Regions from separate parts of the Homo sapiens genome. Here regions 1, 3 and 4 are each linked to region 2. Evidence: promoter capture Hi-C in human tissues and cell types (Jung and others, 2019). All regions are on one chromosome and are shown on one strand. Each heading gives the region's core, a stretch centred on a gene start or on the middle of the fragment in contact. The rest is flanking DNA. Distances are from core to core; before and after follow the strand shown.

Region 1 (3,397 bases), core at 777-3,276, 290 kb before region 2:
AAAAAAAAAAAGGAAAAAGACACCATGTTTCCTAACTTTAAGAAATTCACTATCTAGTTGGGGAAATAAGACAGAAGAAAAAGGCAGGTAATTCCTAATGAGTGAAAGTGTCAATAGTGTACCTTGGTCTCTGTAGTTTTGTAGAGAACTCAAAACTATTGACATACATCACAGCCACAAGAATCCAGTGGGTTTCAACTCTGTTAGGGACCTTTTTCTGGATCCTAAGGAACACAACATATGATACAGGCCTTCATGGCTGAATGCCTTGTCTTTTTTCAAAAAAGAACATTTTTCTTCCCGGTGATATTCAGTCTACTATTCCTGAGCAAAGACAGCTAAGTTACTTAGACACAAGCTGCATCCTAAACTCTGTCCTAGCTTGCATTTCATACAGCCACAGGCGTGCACTGGGTAACACCCTTTGTTGGATTAATCCATTTCTAAATCATTTGTCTGAAGTCTTTTTCATGAAGACTTAAAAGACACTCTAGGGCAACTTAAAGTGTAGAAGGTGTGGCAGTGTGAAAGCAGAATCTATGAAAAAGGGAAGTTTTTGTGAATGACGGATATGTAAGTTTGGCCTTCAGGGCATACTAAAGCAGGGGGTGGATCATCCCAAAATTGTTTCATACATGTAATTAATTTTCCTATAGTTGCAGAACGTCATTTATATTCTGTAAGGAAATAATGTTAGCATGCATATTATAAATTTAAATTTAACCTGGAAACAGTTTTATTTCACCAGATGTAAAATGCCTTATAAACAAACAGGTATTACTTCCCTTTTATTTACTTCCACTATTATTCCCCATTTTTCTTCCCTTGACATCTTATCTCCTCTGTCAAAGTCCCTGATTTTTTTTTTTTTTTTTTTTTTTTTTTTGAGATGGAGTCTCGCTCTGTCACCCAGGCTGGAGTGCAGTGGCCCGATCTCGGCTCACTGCAAGCTCCGCCTCTCGGGTTCACTTCTCCTGCCCCAGCCTCCCGAATAGCTGGGACTACAGGCGCCTGCCACCACGCCCAGCTAATTTTTTTGTATTTTTAGTAGAGGTGGGTTTTCACCATGTTAGCCAGGATGGTCTTGATCTCCTGACCTTGTGATCTGCCCACCTCGGCCTCCCAAAGTGCTGGGATTACAGGCGTGAGCCACCGCACCCGGCCGCATTAATATTGTTCATTATGTATTTTTTTATAATTAATAAATCTGATTGATGCATTATTATTAACTGAAGTCCATAGTTTACATGCAGATTCACTCTTTATGTTGGACAGTTCTATGGGTTTTGACAAACGTATAATGCATTTACCCACGTTATAGCATCATAAATAGCAGTTTCATCGCCTTAGAAATATCCCATGCTTTCTCTATTCATCTCTTCCCCTTCTGGTAACCATGATCCTTCTGCTGTTTCTGTAGCTTTTTGACTTTTCTAGAATGTCATATAATTAGAATCATGTCATGTGACTTTTTAAGATTGGCTTCTTTCATTTGACAATAGGCATTTAAGGTTTCTCTAGGTTTTCGGTGGCATGATAGCTCAGTTAAGATGTTCCATAGCTTGTCGATTTATTTATCTGTTGAGGGATGTCTTGGTTGCTTTCAGTTTTTGGCAATTATGAATAAAGCTTCTAAATGCTCACATGTAGGCTTTTGTGTGTGGGTAAGTTTTCAAACTAATTGAGTAAATACCTAGAAGTGTGAATGCTGGATCATGCGGCAAGAGTAAGTTCAGTTTTATAAGAAACTAACTGCCTAACTTTCTTCCAAGTGCTGTTACCATTTTGCATTCCCACCAGCAACAGATGAGTTTCTGTTACTCGCCATCCCTGCCAACATTTAGTGTTGTCAGTGTTTGAGATTTTAGCTATTCTAATAGGTTTGTGGTGGCATCTCATTGTTTTTTTGTTTTTATTTAAAAAAAACAGACTCTTGCTCTGTCTCCCAGGCTGGATTGCAGTGGTACAAGCATGGCTCACTGCAGCCTCGACCTCCTGGATTCAAGCAATCCTTCTACCTCAGACTCCTGAGTATCTGGGACCACAGTCATAAGCTACCATACCTGGCTAGTTTTTAAAATTTTGTAGAGATAGGGGTCTCGCCATGCTGCCCAGGCTGATCTTGAACTCCTGGGCTCAAGTGATCCTCCCACCTTAGCTTCCTGAAGTGCTGGGATTATAGGTATGAGCCACCATGCCTGGCTCTCTCATTGTTGTTTTAATTTACAATTTTCCCAATGATGTGATGTTGAAAGTATTTTCATGTGCTTGTTTGATGTATGTACATCTTCTTTGATGAGATGTCTGTTCAGATCTTTTGCTTATTTTCAAGTTTCTCCCAGTCTGTGTCTTGATTTTTCTCAAGATGTTTTTCTTGACAGTGTCTTTCACAGAGCAGAAGTTATTTTTTTGATAGTCTATCTTATCATTTTTTCTTGCATTTTTTTTATTTTTTTGGTGTTGTATCTAAAAGCTTATTGCCAAACCCAATGTTTCCTATATTTTCTCCCATATTATTTCTTAGAAGTTTTATTGTTTTGCATTTTGTATTTAGGATTATAATTCATTTTGAGTTTTTTTTGTGAAAGGTGTAAGGTCTGTGTCTAGATCTATATTTTTACACATGAATGCCCAACTGTTCCAGCCCCACTTGTTGAAAAGAAAAACCTTTCTCTATTAAATTTTCTTTGTTTCTTTGTCAAAGATCAATGGACTATATGTGAGTGGGTGTGATTTTTTTCTATATTTAAAAAGTAAGATTTTTTTAAATAAAATGAAATATAAATAAAAATACAAATTATCTGTAAAGAGGGAGCTTCCACGTATTAGATGATGGAATCAAGTTCATTTTATTTTCCTCCCTTGATTTAGAAATCACCCCAAAGGAACAAGTATAATGGCATACAGACACAGATTTTATCTCTGATGACAGTAGGAAGGTTTTTTTGTGTGTGTGTGTGTGTGTGTGTGTGTGTTTTTTTTTAAATCTTAAATCACAGTATCTAAGAAGGATTGCCAGATGCAGTGCTGGTTAAATAAGGATGCCAAGGGAAACCTAGATTTTCTATGTGGGGCTGTGAAACTAAACAGCTGGAATTCTCCAAAATTGACATACCTCCTAGGAGCAATGCCTTCTTTTGAACAACAGAAGCGGGTAATTGGACTAGTGACAGATCTTCCCTGAAAGTTATTTTATACCATAAAGAAGCACACACGCACTCACACACACGCTCAGCCCTGTGCCATAAAGTATCTATGCCATAAAGCTTTTAACTTTAGTATAAAACAGAAAAAAAATTCTCCTTAGAATACTTGTCTCCAATGCATGAACTTTATTTAATTAACTAGTAGAGGATAAACCTGCTTCACTCAAAGATTATCTATCTATCTATCTATC
Region 2 (3,263 bases), core at 751-3,250:
GCAACTTTCCTTATCTCCAAGCTAGTAGAAAATGCTGTTGCTTTGTGGTCGTTTTTTTCAAAGGACTTAGGGAGGGATCATTTTCTCTAACCAGCTCATCAAATTCACAGAGGTCTACAGAAGTGAAGTGACGTGCCCAAGAGCTCATGGCAAGTAAATAGTGTCTTAGTCTAAATACTTCCAGAATGAGTATTCCTAGACCTTGTACTTATCTCATTGTCCTATGCTCAGGCAAACGTTTGCAAACAGCAGGGAAAACAACTGCAGATTGAGACTTGAGGGAGAAGGGTGGGAGATGGTCCTTAGCAGATCCCTGGGCCTGGGGATCACCTGCTCCCTGGGATCAAAATAGTGAAACAAGCTATTCATAAGTACATCAAGGACGAGTAGGCCATTGTTTTCAGAACCAGCTGTGGAGAATCTGCTCGACAGTGGCCTTGGAACAGCTGCGGCTGCTGCACCAAGAAGGGAGGGCAGGAGGGCGGAGCGGTACTGGTGGAAGGGTGAGCTAGGAGGAAAGGCTGCAAGGACCCTGCCACGCCACCTCCCGGCAAACCAGGAAGTATTTTTGCAGTAAGTGCATTGGACTGAGCCACCTTTTGAACCTACCCGAAGTGTTAACAGCGCACAGCAGGCCTTAGATGGGTGCAATAACTGCAAACTCTCAACGGGCTGGTGCCTAAGAGGCTACGGGCTGGCAGCTAAATAGAGCCCGGCGCAGTGAGTCGCGTTGTCCGAAAGTACACAGAGTGGAGCCAGCCGACTGTGCTGTCTTTGCAAACCGTGACCGAGCAAAGTCCGCGGTAAACAAGCCTCGCAGCAGCTGCCTCCGGATGAGCGCCCCCTGCTCATTCCTCCACCCAGCATTTCCCACGCGCCCAGCGCTCCGCTCTGCAGCCCCTGCCGTCCTCTCTCCCAGCCCCATTCTCAGATCGCCCCATCTTTTGGCCCAGCCCAGGTCCCAGCCCCCGCGGCTGGCGCACCACACTCACCATCTCTTGCCTGAGGAGGTGAAGCTTGGTTTCTAGCCTCTCCAGGGCGCTAGAGTGGCTACCTCGTGGGGAGCCAGAGGTTGGGGAGGACGAAGAGGAGGACGACAAGGAGGGAGGGAAGCTGCAGTAGCTGCTGCTGCTACTGCAGCCGCCGCCGCCGCCGCCACCACCACCGCTCCCCCCGCAGGGGTCCCTGTCCCTTTCCCTGGGAACCGGCTCCTCCCCACGGAGAGAGCGCACTAGACTCTCGGGTACTTTGCGCCCCAGCTTCAGCTCGATGTCTCTGAGGTCTGGCAGCGGGCTGTCTTCCATGACTTTTCCGGAACGGCGATAATAGTAATAAAACGCAGCAGATGAAAGGCAGCCACGGCTTCGAAGGCTGCTGCGAAATCAGCAGACCTCTCCGGGGGCCAGGGTCTCTATCCTCCGCCGCTCCGGTGTACCGTCCTTTCCATAACCGCCTATGCGGTATCAGCCCTGAAATCCGCACAGGACGCGGGGGGTCGCAGCTGCAGTTCCCAGTCCGCTGCGACTCCTCCGACACTAAGATGATCAAGATCTCCTCATTCTCTCTCTTTTTGGCCACCTCACTGCAAAGTTGAGTTCACTGATATTGCAGACAGAGGGGGAATAAAGAGGGGGAAGTAGTGAAAGAAAAGAGAGGGAAATTAAATCTGTTTTAGCTTTACCAAGGGAAAATTTTCACATTATAAAACCGTCCGTTCACATCCCTGCGCCGCTCACTGACTGCCCATCTGGTACTACGCGACACAAAATAATGATGCAGCCAGAAACGATGTCCTGGGTCGTTTCATTTTCCAGCCATATGCCTCCAAGCTTTCGGGATATCCTGGGTTGTCAGAAATAATCTCTGGTCAGTGAAAGAGGAGTTCGGTCGTGTGCATGGACCCATAAAAAAGAGCTAGTTAGCTTAGCAGGAGTTTAACGGCTTCCTTGATGCAGCAAAAATGTCCTTCTTCCCATTTAGGCTGTTTGATCCAAGTCATTGTGTTCCTCTGAGCCTCGGAAACTTTAAACTCCGCTGGCAGGTGGACCAAACCAGGACCAACCCTTCTACCGTATATCACAGACAAGAAGAGCAACCGGAATTTTCCCAACCCTGTCGCTAGTAGCAGAGTTTCAAAGCCCTGCTTTAGTTAGGAATACCAGTTGATTTTTCAGTTTTCCTGACTAGCTACAACCTTTAAAACAGGTTTTAAAATGAGAGATAGAGGAATGACTTTATATTTGGTGTCTTCGTTTCCCATCTCTCTACCTTCCTCAAAGGAAAAACAAACAGAAAACCTCTCTTTAGAAGACTTTCCTAATAATTTTATTCTAATAAAAAGAGTGAAACAATTTCATCAAAAGTTCAATGGAAATGTACAATCAAAATTAATTATCCTACCAACTGTTACAGTATGCAAACAAAAGTGAAAAATTAAATAGCCAGAATAACTTACATGACTGCTGAGATAGCAGTGAAATTTTAAGAACAAGCAATTGCTGAGATACTTACTTTTATTTTAATTATGGAAGAAAAAATATTGGGAATAACTATTTAAAATGTTGTCTTCTTTGATAATTTATCTATAAATTAATTTATAGATTTTTTCAACTATACAAATTGTACAATTAATTGTATAGTTGAACAATTGTACAATTTATTAATTTGTACAATTGTACAATTCATTAATCTGAAATACTTCTACCAAGTAAGTTATTATGAGCTACATGGATTACAGATCTGAATCAGCATTGAGTTTGTGTCAAAAATGTTTAAGTAGAGGATACTAATTTCAATCCAGTAAACTACAATTTTTGATTTCCATTGAAATATTTCAAAGTATGTGCCCCTCTATTTCTGTGACATATAAGTATTTGTGTTCCTGGTCACTCCGAGGCTCCATTTCCAGAGACATCATTCAGGTTTTACACTTGTAGGAACATAGGTATATACATCTCAGAGTTTGTTTTTATCATATCTGACTCTAGGAAACCTTATACGTAGAGGAAACATACGCATTCTAAATGAAATATTTCATGTCAGGGAAAAAATGCTGAACTTTCTATCAACATGCCAGAAATTTGCATGCTATTTCTCCCTTTTAAAAAGAAATGAAGAAAATAGTTATAAGTTAGATGACCCATTTCAAAGTTAGAACTACCACTTACAGAATCAAGGGAAAACAAGACCAAATCCCAGCTAACTGATAAAACTACATGCTTGGTCCTAAATTTGGAAAAACACAAGCTCGTTGCATAAGAATT
Region 3 (3,715 bases), core at 793-3,292, 510 kb before region 2:
GCAAGTGAGATGAATGAGGCGTCTTCCTGGGCACAAAATTAAAGGAGGGAATACCAAACAACCCCAGTAATCAAGAGGAATCATATTTTAATGTAATATTTAAAAAAAATGTAAAAAATCCACAATGAATAAAACATCAACATCTTAAAGACAGGATCACTATTGCTGTTGTTCGTTTTGTTTCAGATTTCAATATGGCTTGGCAAGGCACTGTTACTACTCCTGGTTGATTGGAAAGGACACAAGGACACTTTCTGGGGTGATGGGACCATTCTACATCATGGTTTGGTTACTGTCTATGGGGGGCGTATATAATTGTCAAAACTTATTGAATTGTACACTTCAGATCTGCGCATTTTATTGCTTGTAATTATACCACGTGCATATATGTTTAGAACAGGCCTATGATCCAATTCAGCCTAAGGAATGCTGAAGGAATACTGTTGGAGGTTTTTGGCCGAGTTACTCTTTAAAAAGAGAGAGATTGCAATGGATGGTCTCTGGACATAACTCTCTGTGCATCTGAGAGCTGGAACTGAGATGGTTATCTAGTGATCAGCTTGGCCATAAGCTGACACATGAAGAATCAGAAGTTCTTTCTGATTATTGCAGAAGAATCAGAGAGAGCTGGGGCCTGCACCCTCACTGAACTAGACCTAATCACTGCATTCACTCTGTACCTTTCCTATTACATATGCCAACATCTTTTTAATTTTATAAGCCAGTTTGAGTTGGGCTTCCTATTACAGACTCAGAGACATACAGAGAAAGCAATACACAGAAGCTCAGAGTGAGCAGAATTCCTGAGGAACGAAGAAGCAGAGTGTAGGCAGCATGGAGTGCCTATTACCTGCCAGGCACTGTGCTGGCACTGGGGAAAGGACAGGACATTAGACAGACAAAATCTCTGCTCTCATTGAGCTTACATTCTAGCTGGATGGTGGTAGGAGACAGGAGGGAGACTGCAACAATTTTAAATAGTGATAAATGCTGCAGAGATAACAATACAGTGCAATGTGAGGTGAGAAGGGGCTACTAACTTACTGGTGAGCCAAAGACGTCTTCTCTACAGAGGTGTCATCTGACCAGTGACTTGAATGAGGAGAAGATGCTAGCTGTCTGAAGCTCTGAAGCAAAGGCTTTCTAGGTAGCGATACAGCAGCACGTTCCTGGAAGACAAAAAACAGATGGAGTGGAAACTGCCTAAAAACTTTAAAGTGCATAGAAATCACCTGGGGGTCTGGTTAAATTGAAGATTTTGATTCAGTAGGTCGAGGTGATGCCGAAATTCTGCATTTTAAACAAGCATCCGCGTGATGCATTGTTTCTGTATGCATTACACCTGGAATAATGCTCCCCACAGTGTGGTCTGCAGCCTGGTCCACACACACACAAATTAAAACTTAACCTTTAAAAATCTTTATAGCAATTGAACACTGACACAACATCCAAGCATGTCATTTTTCTAGTAATTTATTTTTAGTGCATTGGTCAGTGACACATTGGAAGTTAAAAAACAAATCACCTGACCCTTTGCAGTTAGTTTGAGAAGCAGTGTCCTAGGTCTATGATACTACAGCAGAGGAGGGAGCTATCCTATCCACCAAAACTGCAGAGAAGCTTGGTAACATTGAAATCCTAGGTACAATGGAGAGTGGAAGTAAAATGTCAGGAGCGAAAGCTGGGTATTGGAACAACCGACATTATCACCACCATCACAGGCATGCACAGATACACAGACATAAACACCCACATGCACACTCTAGACACACACGCATGCACACATAGCTTCCATATGTAAGTCCTAGCAGCCAGGCATCTATTTCTCAGGCAAACATCCAGAAATGTCCTCTCAAAAGACATCAGATGGCTATGGAGTAAAGACTTCTTTATTCTGGAATGGAGGAGCCCCTGAGTGTAATGCTTTCTCAGAAGTGAAGTACAAGTCAACAAAGCCTTGCGGTATGCACAGAGCCCCACACTGCTCACTGCCTCATTATTAAATATAAACAGACCATCCACGATTACCAGACTTTCAAGGACCCAATATAAACAAACATTAGAGGAAGAAGAAAAGCTAGATACATAGGGACAGAGGTATACTGGATTATAATTATGGTAGAATCACACAGACTGTAAGAAAATCTCATCTCTAGAGCTGCATCCTCTGAAATGACCTTTTGTTTCTGTGTGTTTGTGTTGTGACCAGAAAGATGTCACATTTTCTGTGAGACCTGGCTGTTCACCAGTGGAAACTCATGTTTTCCTTATATTCCTAGTTATCCTTTAATAAGCTCCGACTGAGGTAATCTCAGTGTGTTCCTTGAAACTTAAAAGTACCTGTCTAGCTCACTGTGAATGGCTTAATATGTGTATTTCATCAGTTTGAATGCTTTTAGTTACAAACAACAGAAAACTCAATTCAAACTAGTTTAAGAACTAAAAAAAATTTATTGGCTCATACAAGTGGAAAGACAAGAGGTGGAGTGGGCTTCAGGTAAGACATAATCCACTGACTCAGTGGTGTTTTCAATAGCTCAATTTTTTCCCCTCTGTTCTTTCTGCCATCATGAAGGGGGAGTATTACCTAAAAGATACTATGCAACTTGAACAAATTCTTTTCACTATTGTTATTGTTTTTCTTGATTTTCTTTTTGGATAACTCACTTATGCCCTCAGAGTATGCATAACAGGGAAGATATTTTGTAAGATAGTTCAAAATGTCATTCTAGCTGGCATAAACTTGAGGCACAGATTCTGGAACAGTTTGGATGTGTTTCTTCCTAAAATTAACCTGGCCCCAATGCTTTCTCCTGGAATTTCCTTATAGAGTTAGAATTTTGTGGGTACAAATGCAAATGAATTCAAGGTCAGAAGGTCATGACCTCCCAATGCCCTTTCTTTCATGCTTAGAGAGATGAGGCCTAATCAGACACACTGGAGATTTCAGAGCCTTTATCTCTCTATAAACAGTTTGTTATATGAAGAGAGACAGATTACTCTGTATGTTCTCAAAAGAGAAATAATTTTTACATTTTTCTCATTCCTGGGATTCTCTCTTAGTCATTCTCTCCCCCTAATGGCTTTCTCCTAGACACATATATATCCATTATCCTAATGTTCTTCTCTTTCTTCTTTATCTTCTTTTTTCAACCTTGACTTCTTTTCAATGGAGAGAAAAAATTAAGGATTATTTAAAATGCTTTTTAACATTGAACAAACTGAAAAAAAATTTATCTGAACTCTTCTTTTAATTGAGACATCTGAGGCAAATTGAAACCATAAAGTCAGTCAGCCAGTAGACAACATAAAAAATCTACAAACTATAATAAACTAAAACTGCACAGTTGTTATATATTAGATATCCCTTAGGTAGAGGGACTGGCAAGCATGCCATCTAGTTTGCATTTAAATGCTGCATTATTAATAAGAGTCACTGCTGGCTAAAGGTGATAAAAATAGCCCATCACCCCACTATTAGGATTACCCCAAATCAGTCCTTGGGAAAGGATTTGGTTCATAGAGTTCTAACCCTGCAGTTCTGTAGTAACATCTCCCAGCATGGGGGTCTCACCTACGTCTTGGCTATCTGCTGTTAAAAAGCAGAATGAAGACTGTGTGCTCAGCAGGCAACTAAAAGAATCCTCTGTTATTTTGGTGGATCAAAAGTTTAATTTCCAGGATCTGTCTTTTCAGCAGCCGTTAAAGGTTTTGA
Region 4 (3,643 bases), core at 247-2,746, 360 kb before region 2:
AATTTTATTTGCTTGTGTTGTTTGTCCTTGCCCCTCCTGGGCTGGGATCCACATGATTTTATACTGCCTTTATACTCTTCTCATGCTGAGTATGTTTCCCTATAGACACAGGAGGCTCAGTCAGGCAGTGGCTAAATGACCAAATGACTGAGCCAGTCATTTGCGTTAGGCACTGTGCTGTTTAGGCACAGTTTGCTGCCTAAATCCTGAATCTACCTAGCATTTCTTCTCCCAGTGACCTATTTCCAGGGCTTGAGTTTTGAGACTAAGTGGGAAATATGACAGTAAGGAACTTCCCAGGATGGTCTTGCAGGTCGCAAGTTTTTCCACAGAGCCCTCGTTTTGTGCAGAGCATGCTGGGAGCCCAGTGCCTGCCAGGAAATTTGTTGTCTACTCTCCTGCAGTTGGTCCAAGTGGTGCCTCTTTATCAGCAGTTCATGGATGTCAGACTTCATTTGCATTATTTTAATGCTGGCTTTAAACATGAGCTATTCTTTATTCACCATGAAAAGTCAGTTTCATGTTTTGGGGAGGAAAATATATAACATTTAATATAAAATATATTTTAAAGGAAGAAAAAATGTGCTTTTCATTAATGAGGAAGGATGATAAAACTTTATGATACTAAGATTTCAGGCCCAACTAATGATATTTATTTCTCACAGATCAATGGTCAGATTTTATATGGAAGAAGTCATCAGAATGCCTCATCAATCATTAAATGTGCCCCTTCTAAAGTGAAAATAATTTTTATCAGGTGATCATTTTCTTTTGCTAGTTTACCAAATACTTTTTGTTAGCATTTCTTCTCTGAGTTCTTTTGAATGAAAAGAAAACATTTGTAGCCGGGCATGCTGGCTCATGCCTGTAATCCCAGCACTTTGGGAGGCTGAGGCGGGCGGATCATGAGGTCAGGAGATCGGGACCATCCTGGCTTACATGGTGAAATCCCGTCTCTACTAAAAAAAAATTAGCCGGGCGTGGTGGCACGCACCTGTAGTCCCAGCTACTAGGGAGGCTGAAGCAGGAGAATCACTTGAACCTGGGAGGCGGAGGTTGCAGTGAGCTGAGACTGTGCCACTACACTCCAGCTCGGGCAACAGAAAGAGACTCTGTCTCAAAAAAAAAAAAAAAAAAAAAAAAGAAAACGTTTGTAAATTTGTAAGTGTCACAGTTCCAGGTTTTGGGGGTTAAATAATTTTCTCTAATAACCTTCTGACTCTTGAAGTAAGAGAATGAAAATAATACCATGATGTTATAATAGGTTGTTGTTTTTTTGCTTTTAGAAATAAAGATGCAGTGAATCAGATGGCCGTATGTCCTGGAAATGCAGTAGAACCTTTGCCTTCTAACTCAGAAAATCTTCAAAATAAGGAGGTATATGTAACTTATGTTTGTTTCTCTGGGAAGACTTGATTGATGTGAGCCTTATTAATTCAATCAACAATTACATAACACTTAGAGAGGGATATTAGAGGTAGATAAGTTATAGCCTTGGCCTTCAAGGAGTGTACATCCTAGTATAAGAAGACACTCATGGAAATAAGCATACCACTTATGTGAAGAGTACTTGTAGTCTGCCTAGGGAATAGTGAGGGTAGGAAAAGAGTTATCAGTTCTGCCTCTGAAAAGAAATTGAGGATAAAACTTTATATGGAAGGTTACATATGAAGTGTATGTTGGAAGATTTGGGGGGCAAAAATGTTGCAAGCGGAGGGCATGGAGTGAGGAATGGCATGGAGACTTTGGCCAATGCAGGAAGCTAAATTGTAGAGCATCACTGAGCAATGAGGGGCAGGGAATGGAAGCTGGTGGGGAAAGGGTCAATGTTAAAGGGGACAGGGTCAGATCATGGGATACATTGATAGGCCAACATGTGCCAGCTTTGTCTTTGAGGCAGTGTGGAGCTCAAAGAATGAGAAATGTTTAGTTAAAAATTTCTCTGGCAGTACTGTAGAGAAAAATCAGAGGTAGCAGGGGAGAGAGGTTAGAGGAAGTAAGATAATTATTGGAATAATTCAGGAAACAGTTAACAAGGACCTGAACTAAAGCTGGAAGAGGGAATGGTTACATCAGATGTTTAAGACCCAAATTGATAATACTTCATCCCCAACTAAATGTACTCACTGAGGAAAAATGAGTGGTTGAAGATGTGTTTATCCAACAAATATTTTCTGAGTACTCTGCCTTATACCAGATACTGCTCTTTGGACTGGAGAATAAAACAGGTAGGATATACAAGGTTTTCAGATATCTGACTTAGTGACATGAGGGATGGCTGTCTTTTACTGAATAGAAAATACAGAAAGATATTTGCAAAAATATGGTACATTCTATTTGGGGCAGGTTAAGAACGAAGTGCCTGTTGGATAGCCTGGTAAAAATGTACATTGGGACATTTGGTCTCCAGTTTAGAGATGATTTCCTGTATATGCAGATTTGGCATTTCTTAGCCATGGAGGCTGAGGTGCTTGCTACAGAGAGCATTTAGAGAGAAAGAGGGCCAAGGGCAGAATCATGTGGTAGCAACAGTAAGGAGGAAGGCTAACCAAGAGATCAGAGACTATGAAGAACCAGGAGGGCATGTGGCAGAGCAGCGGAGAAGAGTGTCCTTCAAGGGTACACTCCACAGCTCTACATGCTGCCATGTAGCAAGAATCCAGTGAGAAGATGAGTAGAAAGAGTCCCTTGGGTGTGGTAACTAGGAGACTGTTAGTGGTTTTTGAGAAAGCAAATGATGGACAAGAAGTCAAGGAGAGAGAGAGGCAGTGGCTAGAGGGTGACAGAGAATTGGGAGAGTGGTTTTGTTTTGATTTAGGAAAGCTTTGGATACATGTGTATGATGAATAAAAGGAGTTAGTAGAGAATGAAAAGCTTAAAATTAGAGGAACTTTGGTGATTATCAGTGGGGGTACCTGTAGGAAGAGAAACATTCTTTCCTAAATGAATATATAAACATAGAGCTTATGTATACATAAGATAGATGTACAAATCATTGTCTCATTCCGGCTGCTCCTAACGTTCCACTAAGCCACGTGGTTATTTAAGATAATTAGGTTATAAGGTAATATATTTTCTTTTCATATTAGTTGTACTAAATATGTCTCTTAAGGAAATGGAGTATTTTAATAACGTTCATTAAAGTTTTCAATTCACTTGATAAATAACACAGTAAAGAATAATGAATGGTGTTTCTGCTGATGCTCTGTCACTGAGTTTCACCATTTGTTAGCTGGGCTACCATCGGTTTTCATTATACAGTAAACCCAGGCAGTCTTCAAGCCACTTGGTCTATCTGTGCTCTCAACTGATTGCTGTCCAGTTACACCTCGTAAGTATTTTGAAGAGAATGTAATGTTCATAAATTCCATAGAATGTTAAAATAGCAAAAATGTATTATAATAAATAAATGTATTAAAATAGCAATAGTGTATTAAAATAAATAAATGTAAAATAATTTTATATAATGTATAAAATAATTTTGAATAAGTGGCCTTTATATTTAAACAAATCAAATTTCCTAACACTCAGTTGCTCTTTTTGTCATTTCTTTCCCTCTGTCAGACAGAGCCAACTGTTACTACTTCTGATGCAGCTGTGGACCTCAGTTCATTTAAAAATGTGCAACATCTGGAGCTTCCCA

What was found. Contacts are between HindIII fragments. The study calls those that stand out against the background at their distance.
Region 1: a contact is called between a fragment that was not itself captured here and the fragment with the promoter of LURAP1L in region 2, in 3 of the 25 tissues and cell types used here (dorsolateral prefrontal cortex, hippocampus and mesenchymal stem cells).
Region 3: a contact is called between a fragment that was not itself captured here and the fragment with the promoter of LURAP1L in region 2, in 1 of the 25 tissues and cell types used here (dorsolateral prefrontal cortex).
Region 4: a contact is called between a fragment that was not itself captured here and the fragment with the promoter of LURAP1L in region 2, in 1 of the 25 tissues and cell types used here (hippocampus).

Annotation. Positions count from the first base shown.
Region 1 is chr9:13,066,712-13,070,108 of GRCh38, reverse strand. No RefSeq gene overlaps it. Among named protein-coding and RNA genes, the nearest start is that of SNORD137, 96 kb to the right of the region's middle. The HindIII fragment of the contact is 4,557 bases long and covers 1-3,397 here.
Region 2 is chr9:12,773,757-12,777,019 of GRCh38, reverse strand. It overlaps LURAP1L (leucine rich adaptor protein 1 like), which reads right to left and starts at 2,000. Exons shown (of 2, transcript NM_203403.2): 1 at 993-2,000. The coding sequence starts at 1,304. The region is part of intron 2 of LURAP1L-AS1 (LURAP1L antisense RNA 1); the gene reads left to right. The HindIII fragment of the contact is 5,707 bases long and covers 1,424-3,263 here.
Region 3 is chr9:13,282,459-13,286,173 of GRCh38, reverse strand. No RefSeq gene overlaps it. Among named protein-coding and RNA genes, the nearest start is that of MPDZ, 4.6 kb to the right of the region's middle. The HindIII fragment of the contact is 5,710 bases long and covers 1-3,715 here.
Region 4 is chr9:13,133,826-13,137,468 of GRCh38, reverse strand. MPDZ (multiple PDZ domain crumbs cell polarity complex component) reads left to right here. Exons shown (of 47, transcript NM_001378778.1): 30 at 666-757; 31 at 1,287-1,377; 32 at 3,565-3,643. Among named protein-coding and RNA genes, the nearest start is that of MPDZ, 140 kb to the left of the region's middle. The HindIII fragment of the contact is 5,271 bases long and covers 1-3,643 here.